Linked DNA regions of Homo sapiens: region 2 is linked to region 1. Evidence: promoter capture Hi-C in human tissues and cell types (Jung and others, 2019). All regions are on one chromosome and are shown on one strand. Each heading gives the region's core, a stretch centred on a gene start or on the middle of the fragment in contact. The rest is flanking DNA. Distances are from core to core; before and after follow the strand shown. Region 1 holds the start of RAET1E (retinoic acid early transcript 1E). Region 2 holds the start of LOC124901427 (a long non-coding RNA gene).

What was found. The method cuts DNA at HindIII sites, captures the fragments that hold promoters and counts their contacts. A contact is called where the count stands out against the background at its distance.
Region 2: a fragment that was not itself captured here is called in contact with the fragment with the promoter of RAET1E in region 1 in 1 of the 25 tissues and cell types used here (psoas muscle).

Annotation. Positions count from the first base shown.
Region 1 is chr6:149,896,772-149,900,090 of GRCh38, reverse strand. RAET1E (retinoic acid early transcript 1E) reads left to right here and starts at 1,978. Exons shown (of 6, transcript NM_001394057.1): 1 at 1,978-2,070. All of the region lies in intron 1 of RAET1E-AS1 (RAET1E antisense RNA 1), which reads right to left. RefSeq lists a silencer at 1,424-1,718. The HindIII fragment of the contact is 8,770 bases long and covers 1-3,319 here.
Region 2 is chr6:149,849,970-149,853,168 of GRCh38, reverse strand. It overlaps LRP11 (LDL receptor related protein 11), which reads left to right. Exons shown (of 7, transcript NM_032832.6): 2 at 9-166. RAET1E-LRP11 (RAET1E-LRP11 readthrough) reads left to right here. Exons shown (of 15, transcript NR_182438.1): 10 at 9-166. LOC124901427 (a long non-coding RNA gene) reads right to left here and starts at 755. Exons shown (of 2, transcript XR_007059808.1): 1 at 605-755; 2 at 1-185. The HindIII fragment of the contact is 3,383 bases long and covers 116-3,199 here.

The sequences.
Region 1 (3,319 bases), core at 729-3,228:
TGCCTTTGAAGATGAGGAAATGGGGTCCTGAGCCATGGACGTGGGCAGTTGAGCAGCTGGAAAAGGCAAGGAGGAGACAGGTTCTCCCCGAGAGCCTCCCAAAGGAACACAGCCCTGACAGCACAGTGATGATAGCTCCGTGAGACTATTCAGACTTCTGAGCTCCAGAATGGTAAAAGAATGAATGTATGTTGTTTTAAGGCACTAAATTTGCAGTAATTTGTTGCAACCACAATTAAAAGTTAATAAGGTTTGTTTGATTGTTTGTTTATAGGGATAGAGTCTCATTCTGTTGCCCAGGCTGCAAAGCAGTGGCGTGATCTCGGCTCACTGCAACCTCCGCCTCCTGGCTTCAAGTGATTCTCCTGACTCAATAAGCTGAGTAGATGGGATTACAGGCACTGGCCACCACACCCGGCTAATTCTCTTATTTTTAGTAGAGACAGGGTTTCAACATGTTGGCCAGGCTGGTCTCAAACTCAACCTCAGGTGATCCAGCCTCCCTGACCTCCCAAAATGCTGGGATTACAGGTGTAAGCCACTGTGCGCGGCTTACTAAGGTATGTTTTAAAGTGGTCATTGCTTTAGGGGAACAAGTTCAGGTGAAGAAGGTCCAGGATGGCCTGGGCAGGCAGAGGTCTCCCATTATGAAATAGAGGCCTTTACATTTAACAGTGGTTAAGATGAAAAATCACGTTACATGAATCATACCACAATTTTAAAAAAAGAAAGAAAGAAAGAAATACAAGGGTTCCAAATGCGAGGGGCAGGGAGAACCAGGCGTGGAAGGGTGTGCCACCTGGGAGCAGGAGTGGGAGTGAGCCGGGCAGATGCCTGAAGGGCAGTCCATGCTGAAGGGAGGGCAATGCAAAGTCCCAAGGCACGGGGACATCTGCAGGGCTCTGAAGACCAGCAAGGAGGCCGAGGGTGGAGGTCGGAACTGAGCGAGTGAGGGGGCATAATGGACAGCTGGCCAGACTGTGCAGGGCTCTCTAGGCATCTGTAGTGACTTTGGTTTTACTGAGAGAAAAAGGGCACTTTTGGAGAATTGGAGCAGAGGGGGGCGTGAGTGATGAGGTTCTGAAGATCACTCTGGCTGCGCTGTAGCCATTTGGGAGGTGGGGACAGGCACGGAGAACCAAGTAGGGCAGCACTGCAATCACCCTGGCCAGGAGGACGGTGGCCTAGAACCAGGGTCGAGTACTAGATGACAGTGTGGTCAAATCATAGATATTTTATTTCTAGTCCAAAGAAGAGATAAGAAAGAGGTCGAGCAAATAGGTGATTTTTTTTTTAAATTATTCACAGCCTTATAACATAACCTCTAAATCTTCAGTAAAGTTGGCTACATTCACAAGTAGCTGGTGTCACTTTGGTGGGGGCTTTGTAAGGAAGTGGGCAGGGTGTCTTTTAAGGAAGACTCAGGAGAAGTGCTGGTCTTCCAGTTGCAGAGGGGAATGGAGTTGCAAGAAGAAAACAGCGAGGTTCAGTGACACACAGTGCGAACACGAGCTCAGGGGGCAGGAGCTCCAGGTCTCAAGAGGGCAGGACGATAATGCAGTGTTTGCACAGAAACCAAGCAATAGAGGGAGCCAGCACCCACCAGAAATGAGGTAGGGCCGCTGTCACAGCTATGCCAGGACCTGCAGAAGCCTAAACCCTGAAAAAAGGTGGGGGCCCCCACCTACATATCAAGGAAAACATATGTATGCCATCACATGCTGGTCTCCAACAACTGCTAAAATTACATTAAATCCTTTCTAGAATTTCGTGGCTGGGACTTGAGTCTGGTCTTGGTCCTTCTACTGATGGTGAATCCAGTACTGAATTGGATCCAATTCTGGACGAGTTACCCTGTCCTAGAATCACTCACACGTGACAGTTGACAGGTGGCCCCACCCGGTTTGCATGGTGGACGGGTGTTCTGCTAGGCCGGCCTCTCCACACCCAGAGAGACTGAACTGGTTTCTGCTCCTCAGAGAGTTTGCACAGAGACTCTGAGGAAGCAGTCACCTCAGGCCTCTCCATCCTAGAGACGGCAGAAGGACAAACATCTCCTGCTGGCACAAGGTAGGGGGTGGGGGATGGCTGGTGTTCCAAACACCCGTGCAGAGGGAACGTGTGCATGTTTGGGAGTGAAGGAGGAAAGCAGGGGCTCGAGTGGTGAGAGAACCAGGGGCAGATAATGAAGTAAAAGTGGGGTTGGGGGAGATGCTGGGGGTGTGGCGGCGGGGACGCTGGATAAGGCAGGGAGGACGGGGTGGCTCTGCGGGTCCTCTGCCTCCACACCAAGCACTCAGGGATCCGTGCCTCCTTCCAGTCTGGAGTCCCAATCGCCCCTCTCTCCAATTTGGGGGACAGGGATTTCTCCTTGTTCTCCTGCCCTAACTCCTTCTTTCCGACTTCTCTTGTCCCATTCTCCCTCAGATCCTCCCTTCCGCTTATGCCAAGGCTTCCACAGCCTCGCTCTGCCGGGCCTTGGCATTCCTAGCCTGAGTGTTGAAACCATTGGCCGGGACCTCAAGGCAGCTGGGGCAGGGAGAGGACGGTTAGAAGCCCAGGGCACACTGCCACAAAAAGGCTGTGACTCATTTTCAGGGATTGAAAACTGCAGTCCAATTCATTTTAAAATTTTCGTCTCTCTTTGGACTTCAGGCTGAAAGTTCTTTATAGCAACGGGCTTCCAGGGACTATGTGAAATTATTGGTTTCACTTTCCTTATCACCCGCTTCTTACTTCAATTAAAATTCCATTTCAGCCGGGTGTGGTGGCTCACTCCTGTAATCCCAACACTTTGGGAGGCTGAGGGGGGAGGATTGTTTGAGCCCAGGAGTTCGAGATCAGCCTGGGCAACGTGATGAGACCCCATCTCCACACCAAAAATTTAAAAATTAGCTGGGTGTGGTGGCTCATGCCTGTAGTGCCAGCTATTCTGGAGGCTGAAGTGGAAGGACTGATTGAGCCTGGGAGTTCAAGGCTGCAGTGAGCCGTGCTCATGCCACTGCACTCCACCTGGATGACAGAGCAAGACCTGGTCTCAAAAAACAAAACAAACAAAAATCTACTTCATATGTAACCATTACTTCAGTTTTGAAACCATTGCCTGAAGCTGACATTTTGCAGTTGGAAAATGGCTATTCCTTCCCATCTTCAGGTTGGCTCAGGCCAAGCTGAGATTCAGGACCACAGAGGGCAACAAAGGTGGAAGGGCCCCTTTCCCCTTTCTGTATATTTTTCCCAGCCTGTCTGCAGCTCTTTCTTTTTCTTCAGTGTTAGGTTGGCATCCCAGATGTCAGGACCCAAGTATAGGCCTGGTGTG
Region 2 (3,199 bases), core at 558-3,057, 47 kb after region 1:
TTTCTCAGAAAAGGATGCGCCTCCACTTAGCAAGGCTGGGCAGGATGTGGTTCTGCATCTGCCCACAGACGGGGTGGTTCTAGACGGCCGCGAGAGCACAGATGACCACGCCATCGTCCAGTATGAGTGGGCACTGCTGCAGGGGGACCCGTCAGTGGACATGAAGGTAACGCATGTTGTCACTGCTAACAAAAACGAGTATTTCAGTGAAGTGGTCTTTTGTAATGTCCTGCCACTTCATGCTCCCTAAATGTCTGTACGCTAGCAGAAGGCATAAAATGGAGACTGTATAAAACTGATTATGCCAAAATGGTTTATTATCTCAATGTGCTTTTCTGCTGAGAGTGAGCAGCAATCTCGATCATTTGTCTTGGAGCCTACCCTCCTTCTAGCTGCTGTTTGTGACTTGTCTAGAGGACAAAGACACTTCAAGGAAGAAGGCTCATGCTTTGTTTTAATGACTCAGATTACTTTTTTAAAGTTCTATTTCTTTTTCTGAGCTCAAGATCCAGGTAGAAAATTTGAAACTACAAAGGAGTCTAAAGAGGACAATAACAATAGGATGAACTTATCCTTCACATGAGCCGGAAAGTAGACAGCTTACCTGGCAGCTAGGTCTGCTGGGGCACACCGAGCCTGTGAGGGAGGGAGGCCAGCATGCGGTGCTCCTGCCCGGGGCTCCTGCCCGGGGCTCCTGGGATAGCCGCCGATGGAAATCAGCCATGTGGCTGGTGGCTGCCTATGCTCAGGAAGTCTTGGGTGGTGAGACAAGTGGCTTTTTATTCACCCTCTCAGGGTGGATTCCTGGCTTAGGCAAATAAGCACTTCCTGGCTTAGGCAGATAAACTGCATCCAAACCACTTCAGTTAGAGGAAGTGGAGAAAGAGGGTGAGGTAAGGAGGCACTGATTTGTACTCTACTGGAACCAAAACAAAAACAAATCTGGAAGTCCCTCATCACTGGTTTAAGTAAGAGTGATTTTACTCCCTGATTATATTGCATTAGAATTGGACTCACCCTCGTCCAGTATGGTTTGCCTTTGTCCCCACCCAAAAATCTCATCTTGAATTGTAATCCCCATAATCTCCACGTGTCAAGGGAGAGACCAGGTGGAGGTTACTGAATTATGGAGGCAGTCACCCCCATGCTATTCTCATGATAGTGAGTGAGTTCTCGCAAGATCTGCTGGTTTTATAAGTATTTGGTTGTTTCTCCTGCCACCTTGTGAAGAAGGTGCCTTGCTTCCCCTTTGCCTTCTGCGGTGATTATACTAGTAAGTTTCCTGAGGCCTCCCCAGCCATGTGGAACTATGAGTCAATTAAACCTCTTTCCTTTGTAAATTACCCAGTTTCGGGCAGTTCTTTGTAGCAGTGTGAGAATGGACTAATACACCCAGCATCCTTCCCAGCCTCTCCTCCAAACAAGAGTGCCTTCCACAACACCCCTTCCAAGGCTCATCTGCCATCTGTCTGACTTTTCCAAGGGCAGAAGCTCACTACTTCACATCATGTCCATGACATTACTCATCACTGTGTTGGGCAAGCAGGCTACGCCTCCCCTTACTTCTGTGCATTGGTGTTGGGTCTTCCCTTTGGAAAAACACTGAACTCATCTTTTTATCCTGTGTAAAAGCTTTGGAAGTCTTTGAAAAAAAGAAAGAAAGAAAGAAAGAACATCACCAATTGGTATGCTGTTCTCAGAACTCAGCACCCCACAGTTTGTCAGATGTTCCTCATATGAATTGATTTTTCAGGCCCGCCACTATCCTGCCTTGTCTGGATTTTCTCATATTAATCCATACCCTTCTTAACATCTAATACCCCTAATTGAACCCCATATTTAAGCTTTGGTTTTCTGACTCATTCATTACCTACTGTGATCCAGATATTGCCTCTCCTTCTATTAATGAGCTTCGTTACATGAACTGTGTCAGTAGCTGCATCACACAGTGGGTTCGTGCTGCATTTTTCTTGCCTTCAAGAGGAAACTCTGAACCAGTTCCCAATCGTGTATAACAGTGACGGCAGGTAGACCTCAAGTTATGAAGCCATCATCTAAATGACAGGGCCTGTACTAGGGGAAACATCTGTTACCAATTTGTGACTGTCTTAGAATGATATACATTCATGAATGTCACCCAAAGTTAACACTCATCCTGCTGAGACTTCATCATAATCAAAGCCCCCACGGATTGAGCACCCACTGAGTGCCAGGCAGCTTAGAGAGATCTGTAATCCACTGGACACCCTCACTTGTAGGCACATCCCCATTTGGTGGATGAAGACTGTCAGGAAACATTGTGGAAGACTTTGAGGTGGGCAAAAGATTACTAAGTACCTTTCAATGGAATGCTGGGTTGGTTAGTGGATCCTTCAGGGTTAACATCTATAAGTTGCAGAAAACTGATAGTAACCAAATGATTCTTGTCCATAGAAATGCAAAAGAAAATTAGGTATATAGGGGTAATTGACTTTCACCCTAGAGAAAATAAGATTTCAAACATGACATTTTAGTACATGTAGATACTAACCGATCTATTAGTAGATTCATTTCAGTACTGATTAGCAAACCCATTTCAGTTTTGCATCTCCTAGCAACTTCTTTTTGGCATTCATGATTGCCTGTATATGTGTAGTCTTCAGATTCTTTAAATCAGTTGAACACCTTATTGGTTCCCTCTTTAACTAATGTCTTTGAAAAATATTCATATTATATTTGTGTGACAGTCATAGCTTTACTATTTTGAGAATTTTCCTTTAACAGTAATTAACCCTCAGGAGCTATGCCTCTGATCCCTTTAACTTGAGCAGCCTTATTTCACACCCCAACATTTCTGCCAGGAGAATTGGGCCTCTCAAATCAAATTCCTTTTTCTCTGAGAATGGCTTCCTGCTGACTGGAACACTGATGCACTCCGCCCTCAAGCTGCAAAATGGGGCTAAGTTTGAAGGTTGTTGAGAATAGAGGGAGGGCAGTCACACAGCAAAATAGTTAAGTTAAAACCTGTTATTGGATGCCCTTGTTCCTAAGTCCCTTGACTGTCCCTAGCACCCAAGAGTGTCCATTGATTGGGCTTTCCCCTGAGCGCCCATCTCCTCCTCTTCTTGAGCCATTCATCCCTCCTCTCATCTCCCCTGCTCTCCACCATCTGCACGGGCTCCTCACCCTTGCTGTCTGTTCTCAGGCAGAGTAGTGATCT